Regions from separate parts of the Homo sapiens genome. Here regions 1 and 2 are each linked to region 3. Evidence: promoter capture Hi-C in human tissues and cell types (Jung and others, 2019). All regions are on one chromosome and are shown on one strand. Each heading gives the region's core, a stretch centred on a gene start or on the middle of the fragment in contact. The rest is flanking DNA. Distances are from core to core; before and after follow the strand shown. Region 1 has its middle 13 kb from the start of ZNF644. Region 2 overlaps ZNF644 (zinc finger protein 644). Region 3 holds the start of BTBD8 (BTB domain containing 8).

Region 1 (3,866 bases), core at 1,119-3,618, 1.0 Mb after region 3:
CCCAAACTTGGCTCTTACAACAATTTAGGTATCTTGTACTCTGGCACTTTGCAGAGAGAAATCATAAACTCATAGATGCCAGGAGAAAAACGATTTCCACGACGGTTTGCCTGAAGGCTCGCAGGCCAATCTTTCAAGATACAAGCAAACCTAAGGGTGGGTGAGGGGAGGCAGAGTAGGTTACCTTTGGGAAGAGGGGAAATTCTTCACAAGTCACCACAGATAACTCACAAAGCAGTCTGTCTTAAGGGTTATTTATGTAAGTATTCTCCAATTATTTATCTAAATAAAAAGTACTGAGAGCACACTTATAATAGTAATAAGCCTAACAATTCCTTATCTCAATAGTTAAGCTTCCGAAAACTAGGGGAAATTAAGAATTCCAGCGTCAAACCTTCTTCACTTTTTTTTTTTTTTTTTTTTTTTTTTTTTTTTTTTTTTGAGACGGCGTCTCCCTCTGTCGCCCCAGACTGGAGTGCAGTGGCGCGATCTCGGTTCACTGCAAGCTCCGCCTCCCGGGTTCACGCCATTCTCCTGCCTCAGCCTCCCGAGTAGCTGGGACTACAGGCGCCCGCCACCGTGCACGGCTAATTTTTTTCGTATTTTTAGTAGAGACGGGGTTTCACCGTGGTCTGGATCTCCTGATCTCGTGATCCGCCTGCCTCGGCCTCCCAAAGTGCTGGGATTACAGGCGTGAGCCACCGTGCCCTGCCGCCTTCTTCACTTTTAAGAGGCTGATTCATGAATCTGCTCTTATTTTCTGTTACTATTTCAACTATTCATCCTGGCAAGTATACTTGCAGGCACGATACTGATATTTGGCTCCATGTATGCTTTACATTTAATTAGGGATGATGATTATCCTGGGATTTCTGGCCAGATTACTTATGATGGCTATATAGAGAATCTGTGCATTGACCTCGTTTAGGGAAGTATCTGGCACACGATTTCTTTTCCTATTAAAAAGTCACGGCCAGGAGCGGTGGCTCACACCTTTAATCCCAGCACTTTGGGAGGCCAAGGCCGACAGATCATGAGGTCAAGAGATCCAGACCATCCTGGCCAACATGGTGAAACCCCGTCTCTACTAAAAATACAAAAATTAGCTGGATGTGGTGGTGCGTGCCTGTAGTCCCAGCTACTCGGGAGGCTGAGGCAGGAGAATCGCTTAAACCCGGGAGGTGGAGGTTGCAGTGAGCTGAGATCACACCACTGCACTCCATCCTGGCAACAGCAGAGCGAAACTCCGTCTCAAAAAAAAAAATTCACTATTTTTGGCCAGGTGTGGTGGCTCACACCTGTAATCCCAGCACTTTGGGAGGCTAAGGTGGGTGGACCACTTGAGGCCAGGAGTTCGAGACAAGCTTGGCCAACATGGTGAAACCTTGTCTCTACTAAAAATACAAAAATTAGCCAGGCCTGATGGTGGGTGCTTGTAATCCTAGCTACTTGGGAGGTGGAGGCAGAAGAGTTGCTTGAACACAGGAGGTGGAGGATGCAGTGAGCTGAGATTGCACTACTGCACTCCAGCCTGGGTGACAGAGAGAGACTCCACCTCAAACAAACAAAAAAATTCACTATCTTTATAGGGATAGAGAGATTAACACTTTGTCTCTTTAGGGATATTGCAGGCAGATGCTCCTTATTCCATTTTGTTCCTTTTTAGGAAAGTCTCGTTGTCACAAGAAAACTTCTACCGGGGCTATTACAAGACCATTTCGTTTTTATGCACAATGCAAAAAGTTGTTGCTTTTTCTGTTTCTAGTGCTTCTTTGCAACATTTTTTTCATATTAGTCAGATTGGCTATCACTGCTCATTTCCAAAGCCTACTGCCAAACTCATCAATTTCTATTCCCAACCTTTAGGCATTTGGTATTTTCGCCTTTTCACTAAAATAAATATCCCTTATGCATTCGTGCACATTTTAAATTTTTTTAGGCTAACAACAGCAGAAGAGAAAAGAACATGTGTATGTCTATCTTTTCCTCTTTATTACTGTTTAGTATTCTCTTCTGGTGGTGCCCTAAAAGACAGAATATTCTATCCTAGAATTATAATTTCATATGGGATTTCCTAGTATACTCAAAACTGATGTAATGGTAGAAAGAAAGTTTTACTTTTCTATCTCCCCTCAAAGCAAATGTGATTACTATCTTTACATTCTCTCTTCCCCTGCCTGGTGTGTGTGTGTGTGTGTGTAAACACACAACTGCAGATATTTGAGTATTATGTATCTGATATCTCTCTTTAAAGAGGATAAAGAGATACACTTCCATTTGATGCAACAGTGATACATTACTTAATATGTACAGATTTTCTAATAATCTGTTATCCAAACTGTGGGTGAGATAGCAATTTAGCATTCATCTTTAATGAAAAGTCATTGTGAAAATTTATTGAATTTCAAAGAAAGAAAATACCTAAACCTGTTATCTGACAGCATACTAGATAGCTGTGAACATTTCCTTGGGCCCTCAGGTCTCTAGTTATAGATCCTACAAATTCAGTGTTGGCCACACACCTCTCCCAACTTTTAATATCCACAGTAGGCGGGGTGCGGTGGCTCAAGCCTGTAATCCTAGCATTTTGGGAGGCTGAGATGGGCAGCTGATGAGGTCAGGAGTTCGAGACCAGCCTGGCCAAAATGGTGAAACCCCGTCTCTACAACAATACAAAAACTAGCCGTGCGTGGTGGCACGTGGCTGCAGTCCCAGCTACTCGGGAGGCTGAGTAAGGAGAATTGCTTGAACTCGGGAGGCAGAGGTTGCAGTGAGCCAAGATCACACCACTGCACTCCAGCCTGGGCAACAGAGCAAGACTCTGTCTTGGAAAAGAAAAATTATATGTGTGTATATATATATCCACAATAAAAAGGAGGAACCTGAGATGGGTCAAGCTTGAAAATGGGCACTTGCAATGAGGCCACCTTGATTATTAATGGTCAAGTGATGTGTGGCTGATATGAGTCCCGGGGAGACCTATGCTTGGGAAATGCACAGTCCTCTGAGGTCTGCAAGTGATCAGTGTTAGATCCTGTGGGAGTACGTTGCATATTCAGACATGTAAGCCTCAAAGCATGGATCATGTATATTTGGACTATTGTATATTCAGTACCACCTGACGCCTCACAGCTGAGTTAAAGGGCCTCAATAGATAGCTGTTGAATGAATGGATGAAAAATATCTTGGCATGTCTGACAAAGTGGTGGAGCAGATGCCATAGAAATCTGAGTGCTCAAGAGATTAAAGAAACTTCTGGGAGATTAAAGAAACTTCTGGGAGATGAAATGTGTTCAGAGGAAAAACAGGACTGTGTCTCTTTGCCTGTACTATTGACATGTGCTATAGAAAATTACATAATGATATGGAAGTAGTGTTACCATAGATTCTTGGTCCCCAATATCAACAGAACCTCCAGCTCTATTCAAATGCCAAGAGTTCTGGGTCTGGGTTCTCCAGCAGCTGTTTCAAACCTACTCCACCTTCTTCAAGACTTCTGCCAACCTATTTTAGGTCATTTGTGCAGAAAGCTTTGCTGCCAATCTTACCAACAAAATAGACAGCATTTGAGCAAAGAAATCTTTCATCTGCCTGATACCCCATGTTGAAATATGTCAAATAGGAGTGTTATCTGTCTCTGTCCAAGTGTACTCTGAATACCCTTCATATTCAACCACTACAAGAAACTCTCTCCTTCCATGCTCTCTCTTTAAAAACACTTTAAAGAATTTTATTCAAACTATTGTATATTGTAACAATAAACAGTACATATTTAAAGTGTACAATTTCATAAGTTTTGACATATATCTACACCAATGAATCCATCACCACATTCAAGAAAATAAACATACCACCCCCAAACATTT
Region 2 (3,806 bases), core at 680-3,179, 1.1 Mb after region 3:
TATGACTGTAAAACTAGTACTTTCAGAGCACCATTTATTGGGGAGGAGAGGGGTAATTCCCAATTTATTGTTGGTTTGTGAAGGTGGGTAAAAGGCTTCACAGAGTTGGAATTAATTGCCTTTTGTTTGCTACTGACTCACTAAATACTTTACACACAGACACACACACACATAGAATCACAATTGCAATTGTAATTATGCATATATAAAGAGGCAGGATATGATAAAGTTTGAAAGTGTAAGCCTTGAAGTAAAATTGACAGGGTTCAGATTTAGCTGTGTGAGCACTAGGCAAGTGGAATTAGTAATTACCATCTTCAAAGAGGTTTAGGGTTGATATTACATAATTCATGTAAAGTCCTTAGCTTTCTGGCATACAATGCTGAGTAAAGTAAGTGTTACCTGTTAGAGTAATAATAGTTATTATTACCATTGTTTAATTATTCTTTCTACATTAACTTGAGATTTTCACCTGTGAGTGATTTGCAGTTGTATACTTTTGCTAATGTCCCATTTTAAGCCATGCCGATAAAGACAAGGTTGTTATAGAGGAAGTGAGAGGTAGGCATCAAAGTGTGCCTTCTCTGATTCTAGCAGCAGAATCTTATAACCAGGTTAAATATTTCAGGAATGCATTCCCAGCACTGTCAGCAGATGAGTAGATACACTTGGGAATGAGTACATTTTAATGAAGTTATTTCCCAGCCAGTGCATTGGTTTGTCTTTGTTATAACATGCTGAATTTCTTCACTCTCCTTTCAATTTTTGACTGTGAGGCCATGTGGTGACTATTAGTAGAGAGAAGAAGGTGAGTGGCTATGCGTATTTGTAATGTACGTATAAACCCAAGATGAGAGTGAGGAGTGGCTGGTAGGTAGCTAGATTGAGGCGGGTGGAATATAATCTTTTCATTGGATAGTCTGAGTTGGGAATTTCCCAAACAGCATTTCCTTTTGCTCTTTTCCTCTCCACACTTTGTTTTGTATATGTCTGTGCTGGTATGGTGTTAAAGTTATCAGTTCCCCCTCTTTAATTTTCTTTCTACCACCAACCTCCTCCTAGCACAAACACGGATTTTAAGCTTATAAGCAAATTTGTCAAAGACAGCTAGTAAAAATAATTTTAGGTTCATTTGAGGAGGGGTACTAGTATGAAATTGTAAGTTTTTCATTTATGCTTGAAAAATACAGCAATTTGGAAAGTGAGGGAGGGGAAGTCACCCATAATCTTATTACCATTATATAATTATTAGTATTAAAGACAGATGACGTTAATTAAGCATCTACTATATTCTTTTAATAATCCTGTGATGTATATATTCCCACTTTACATGTGAGGAAACACATCCACTTAATAATGGAGTAGCCAAGTTTGAACCTAGGTATATCTTGAGAAGGTCTAGAGAGGAGACCTTTCTGTTCTACCTTCCTGTTCTTCTTACATATATATCCTTTTACCTAGTTGTTACACAATTTGTAAGTTTCATCTCCTAGTTTTAAAACTTAGCATTATAAAAACATTTTTCTCCCCCCCCTTATTTCAAGTGGTGTCGTATTGCTCTCATTGTCTATTCATACCACCATATAAAGGCTCTTTGTCTTGGCTGCTGGACATTGGTACAATGATGTTGACCAAAATGGATGCTGCCCTTTACTGAGTGACTAAGATGAAAAAAATCAGGCTTAATCAGAACTAATACTTTATGGGATTTGGATTGCTACAGGTTTAATCATGCTATCTATCCTTGCTGGTGGGACATTTGACTTAGAATTGTATATAAGTAAAATATAGATGAAAAATTGTATAATTTATAGCTATCTGAAAACAACTTTTTTTTAATATTTGAACACTTTGAAATGCCTTACACTTCCTTGTTAAAAATCTTAAAGGGATATTAAAATTAAATGGCACTTAATTACTATTAGTAATTCCTAATATAATATTTAATTCATAAAAGAAAAAAGCTTAATGTTGAATTCTGGCACTCATCGGGAAGATGACATTATATGTTAAGAGATAATTTGTGGGGCATAGTAACTATAGTTAATATTGCATACTTGAAAGTTGCTAGGAGAGTACATTTTAAGTGTTCACACCACAAAATATAACTATGTGAGGTAATGCATGTGTTAATTAGCTAGATTTAACCATTGCATAATTTATATGTATTTCAAAATGTGTTGTACACCATAAATATATACAATTTGTATTTATCAGTTTAAGAAGAAGAAGAAGAAAAAGGTAATTTGTGGGCATTTATAAATAGATTGTATAGGTCAGCACTGCCCAATAGAAATATAAGTTGAGCCACAAATGCAATTTTAGATTTTCTATAGCCACATCAAAAAATAAAATAAATAGGTGAAATTTTATTAATGGATTTTTATTTAACCCAGTATCTAAATACTATTATTTCATCATATAAACATGATTGAACTATTTTACATTTTTTCTTTTTTTAACCATGTTAAGTCTTCAAAATCTGTTAGTATTACATACTTAAAGCACATCTCAATTCAGACTAGCCAGAGTTCAGGTATTCAGTAGCCACATGAAGTTACTGTATTGGACAGTGCAATTACAGATAGTAAGTCCTATGGGGTATAGGGAAAGAATAACATAGAAATTGAACTGAACCGTAAAGGATAGCTGAGAACAGAAAATGCTTGAGAAGAATATTCCCATAAAGAAGTGATAGGAATTAAAACAGCAAATACAGTTTGATACCAGGTAATAGAGTGGCTTGAATCCAGTTTAGGGAATTTGGTTTGGGTGTGTATATGTGTGTGTGTGTGTGTATGTGTGTGTGTGTGTGTGTGTGTGTGTGTGTGAGAGAGAGATTGGAAATATATATTGGAGGGTGCCTAATTCGTGTCTCATACATGAGCACTTGATAAATACTGAATTAACTGGGTGCATTGGCTCATGCCTGTAGTCCCAGCACTATGGGAGGCTGAGGTCGGCAGATCGCCTGAGGTCAGGAGTTTGAGACCAGCTTGGCCAATATGATGAAATATCCCGTCTCTACTGAAAATACAAAAATTAGCTGGGCATGGTGGTGTGCACCTATAATGCCACCTACTTGGGAGGCTGAGGCGGGAGAATTGCTTAAACATGAGAGGCGGAGGTTGCAGTAAGCCAAGATCATGCCACTGCATCCCCACCTGGGCGACAGAGTGAGACTCAGTCTCCAAAAAACAAAAGAAAAAAGATAAATATTGAATTAATATTTAGAGAGAATTAATATGACACTACAGAAAATGCTGGAAAAAACATCCTAACAAAGCCTAGTCGATCTTCAAAAGGGAAAGTGTTTCATTTAGGGAATATTGATGTTCTGTGATTAACAATATGATGGAGATTGATAAAGAAGGATGAGAATTGAGAAAAGGTTTTTAGATTTAGCTATTAATTGGTTACTTGTTTTTAAGTATTTTTTTTAGGTATAACATACAGTGAAGTGCACAAATCTTAAGTACAACTCAGTGAATTTATACATATAAGTATACCTAGGTAACTCCCAGGTAGTGGGAGGTACTGGGTTACACCTGGGGAGAAGAGGATGTAAAAAAAGCACAGACATGAGAATTGTGGAATGCAAGCATTTTCCGTGATTAGAGCCTATTTTAAATGAAATACCCAGATAGAGATGTAGAATATTTTTCTTCACTGATTAAAGGTGCCTTGTGCTCCCTCCTATTAATTTCTCCCTACAGAAGTAACCACTATTTTAACCTCTAACCTCTATCACCATAAATTAGTTTTTGCTTGTTTCTTTTTCTTTTCCTTCCTTTTTTTTTCTTTTG
Region 3 (3,848 bases), core at 463-2,962:
TTTAGTATTATTTTTTCCATCTTTTTCATCAGTCCCTCCCTGGTAGAGACAAAGTAGCTTCCCCAGTAGATAGTCCCAAATTAAAGGGATTTTTTTTTTACTTTGATAAATTCTGTTTATAGCTATCGGAGCCTTAAGTATGGGTGAGTTTTTGACAGAAAGCACTTCAAAATGTAGAATCCTGGCTGGGCGCAGTGGCTCACGCCTGTAATCCCAGCATTTTGGGAGGCCGAGGCGGGCGGATCACTTGTGGTCACGAGTTCGTGACTAGCCTGGCCAACATGATGAAATCCCGTCTCTACTAAAAATACAAAAATTAGCCGGGCGTGGTGGCGCGTGCCTGTAATCCCAGCTACTCGGGAGGTTGAGGCAGGAGAATGGCTTGAACCCGGGAGGTGGAGGTTGCAGTGAGCCGAGATCGCGCCACGGCGCTCCAGCCTGGGCGACAGAGCGAGACTCCGTCTCCAAAAAAAAAAAAGTAGAATGCTGCACAACTTTTAATTATTAGTAATTATGTTTACCTCAGTGGTTCTCATAGTCACCCTAGCCAGCAGCATTAGCATCACTTGGGGCCTTGTTAGAAATGGAAAATTTCAGTGATGCCCACCCAAGTTTAAGAATCAATGTCTTGCTGGAAATGTAAATTAGCTAGGTCATATTTCTAAGCTTCAATTTCTTTGTAAGCTGAAATTACTTTAGCTGGATTCCCAATAACCCGAGAAGGATATCCATGAGGCTTACAAAGGTTAAATGTCAGGAAGACCCTCCATTTGCTTTGGTCCTCACAGGAGCTGAGAGTTGCTGGGAGCTACAGAGAGCTCTAGGTGGAGAGAGGAATCCAGGTCGCAATCAGGAAGCATTTCTGGTAAATTGTTTAAAGAGACCTCAGAAGAGACCTCCAAGACTATAGTATTGTTCTTTCCTCATTTCAAATAATCGTTTTCCTAATTTTATTATTTTTCTTAAAATAGTATAAGCTTATTTTAAAAATTGTGTAAGTTTCAGGACCTGGATCCACCCGACCTTAGTGATTGGAAACAACTAAGCGTGCCTGTGTTGAGATATTTCTAGCAAACTAGTGCTGCACACGACTAAGCTTTTTTTGTTTTCCTTTTGAATCTGGTACATGGTGTCGAGGTGCTCGGGATTGTTTATTCAGGGCGAGCGAAGCCACTTTTCGGAATAGTGGGGAGACTGGCTAACGACCCGCAGTCGCCTGAGGCGAGGAGAACCAAGTGCTGAGGGAGGGGGAGGCAGAGCCGAAAGAAGCCTCAGCTTCGGGGCGGAGGTGGGCGATTTAGGAACTGAAGCAGCCAGAGTTCCCGCCTCCTCCTACCTGAGCAAATCCTGGCTGAGCTGCTCCGACACCGTCGCCTTCAGCCGGCGCCGCTCACACGGCCCCTTCCTTTGCAACCCCTTACTGCAAACTCCAGCGGACCCCAGAAGTACCATGGGGGCCGCACTGCCTTCCCCACAGCGAGCCATGTCTCACAGAGGTACGACGCCCTGGAGGCCCAGTACTTGGCCTCACTTGCCCCGCCCAGGAGGAAGAAGGGGGCGTTTCCGACCGAACGCTCGGCTCCTACCCAAATCCGCCCCCTAGGGTAAAAGGTTGACGCCTCTCGTCGGTTTGTAGACAGTCTCCCAGAGAAGCCGGACCGCGGTGGGGAGCCTCAGAATCCCAGAACCGAGCCGGCTCTTGACCCAGGAAGAGCGTGCGCAGGCGTACTCGCTCTGTTTACTTCTGCCGGCGGGCACCCCGCCTCCCATGGCTCAGGCGCGGACCATCCCGCGGGGCAAACCAATCCTCAGGCTCCTTATCCCCTCCCCTCTTCTTTCCCTTCCGGTTGGTGTTCATTCATTTCAATGTTTTACTGAGGCTCGAGTTCAAATCAGCACATGCAGCCTTTCTATGCTGTGTCTTCCTGACAGGTCTACACTTTTTTCCAACGAAAGACTGGGCGAGTCACACCCCCTCACTTACCTGGCTTCTTAACCCTGAGGTATAAATGTTTGGGGCAAGAAAAATTGGCGATGGGAGGAGTAGGGGAAGAACTTCATAAACTGCCAGTCAGAACAATTCTGAGTTCAATATAAGAGATACTTACAGCATCTAGAAGGCCCCATCCCCTTCTTATCCAAGGAGTGGCTCATACAAGCTTTTGGACTTGATCGGAGAAAGCACAGGGCTTTGCATATAAAGCCCTAACATTTATGACCAAGAAGGGAGAAATAGGTAAGGGGCAAAGTCTTTGAGCAGTGAAGTGATGGATGGATGAAATATAGAATTCTCTTTTGTCCCAAATAAAGTAGCAAACTGATTATCATTTAAGGTTTTGGTATTTTTTATTTGATTACTGCCTCCAAAATAAGGAAACTCAGTAGTTCCGCTTCGGGCCGGGCAAGTCCCATCTACTTGGGAAGCGAGGCGGAATGATGGCTTGAGCCCGGGAGGTCGAGGCTGCAGTGAGCCATGATTGCACCACTGCACTCCAGCCTGAACAGCACAGCAAGACCCTGTCTCAAAAAAAAAAAAAAAAAAAAAAATCTGTTTCATTCACAAACTCTACACACAAGGTGAAGAATAGTAATTGCTTGGAAAATACATTGGCCAGGTTGCGGTGGCTCACACCTGTAATCCCAGCACTTTGGGAAGCCAAGGCGGGAGGATCACTTGAGCCCAGGAATTAGAGACCAGCCTGGGCAACATAAGGAGACCCTGTCTCTACCAAACAAAAAAAAAAAAAAAGGAGGCGGGGAGGGGAATATATGGACTTTGTATTTGTACCATAAGATTGGCCAAGAGGTAACCATTTCTTCAGATAATGCCCCCTCTCAAATATTCAGACATCTTAATTCTGAAAAATATAACTGGATAATTGATTTTTTAAAATTAATTCCCAAATGCTTGGATGGATAATTGATTCTTAATTATTCCTGTAGAAACGAGGGGTGTCAAAGATAACATAATAGTAGCTTATATTTGAATCCTTATTATGTGATAAACGCTACTCTATTTGCTCTGTGTGTTTTAACTCAGTTAATCCTTACAACAACCATTTAGCTAGGTACTGTCTTCAGACCTATTTACAGATGAGGAAGCTGAGGCATACAAAGGATAGGTAAACTTGGCCAAGGTCACACAATGTCATATATCACACTATAATATATGGTGTGTTACACCATAATAATGGTGTATTATAACCCAGGCAGTATTTATATTTTGACTGGCAAATTTAGTCAATTTACATATACTTTTCGTAGGAATGTAAATTGGTGCAGCCATTATGGAAAACAGTATGGAGGTTCCTCAAAAAATTAAAAATAGGACTATGACATGACCCAGCAAACCCTCTTCAGGTATATACCCAAAGGAAATGAAATTAGCACCTCATAGAGATATCTGCACTTTCATGTTTGTTGCCCCATTATTCACAATAGCTAAGATATGGAAACAACCTAACTGTCCCTAGGATAGATTAACGGATAATGTTGTATATATACAATGGAATATTATTCATTCTTAAAAGAGAAGATCCTGCCATTTGTGACAACATGGATGAAGCTGGAGGACGTTAAGTAAAATTAGCCAGGCACAGAAAGACAAATACTGCCTGACGCCTGTAATTGCAGCACTTTAGGAGGCCGAGGTGGGCGGATCATGAGGTCAGGAGATCGAGACCATCCTGACTAACACGGTGAAACCCTGTCTCTCCTAAAAATACAAAAAAAATTAGCCAGGCATGGTGGTGGGCACCTGTAGTCCCAGCTACTCAGGAAGCTGAGGCAGGAGAATGGTGTGAACCTGGGAGGCGGAGCTTGCAGTGAGCGGAGATTGCCACTGCACT

Evidence for each region. Contacts are between HindIII fragments. The study calls those that stand out against the background at their distance.
Region 1: a fragment that was not itself captured here is called in contact with the fragment with the promoter of BTBD8 in region 3 in 1 of the 25 tissues and cell types used here (hippocampus).
Region 2: a contact is called between a fragment that was not itself captured here and the fragment with the promoter of BTBD8 in region 3, in 1 of the 25 tissues and cell types used here (hippocampus).

What each region holds. Positions count from the first base shown.
Region 1 is chr1:91,032,816-91,036,681 of GRCh38, reverse strand. No RefSeq gene overlaps it. Among named protein-coding and RNA genes, the nearest start is that of ZNF644, 13 kb to the right of the region's middle. The HindIII fragment of the contact is 3,018 bases long and covers 860-3,866 here.
Region 2 is chr1:91,012,477-91,016,282 of GRCh38, reverse strand. The region is part of intron 1 of ZNF644 (zinc finger protein 644); the gene reads left to right. Among named protein-coding and RNA genes, the nearest start is that of ZNF644, 7.7 kb to the left of the region's middle. The HindIII fragment of the contact is 3,761 bases long and covers 49-3,806 here.
Region 3 is chr1:92,078,209-92,082,056 of GRCh38, reverse strand. BTBD8 (BTB domain containing 8) reads right to left here and starts at 1,712. Exons shown (of 18, transcript NM_001376131.1): 1 at 1,337-1,712. The coding sequence starts at 1,485. RefSeq lists an enhancer at 1-439. The HindIII fragment of the contact is 3,183 bases long and covers 823-3,848 here.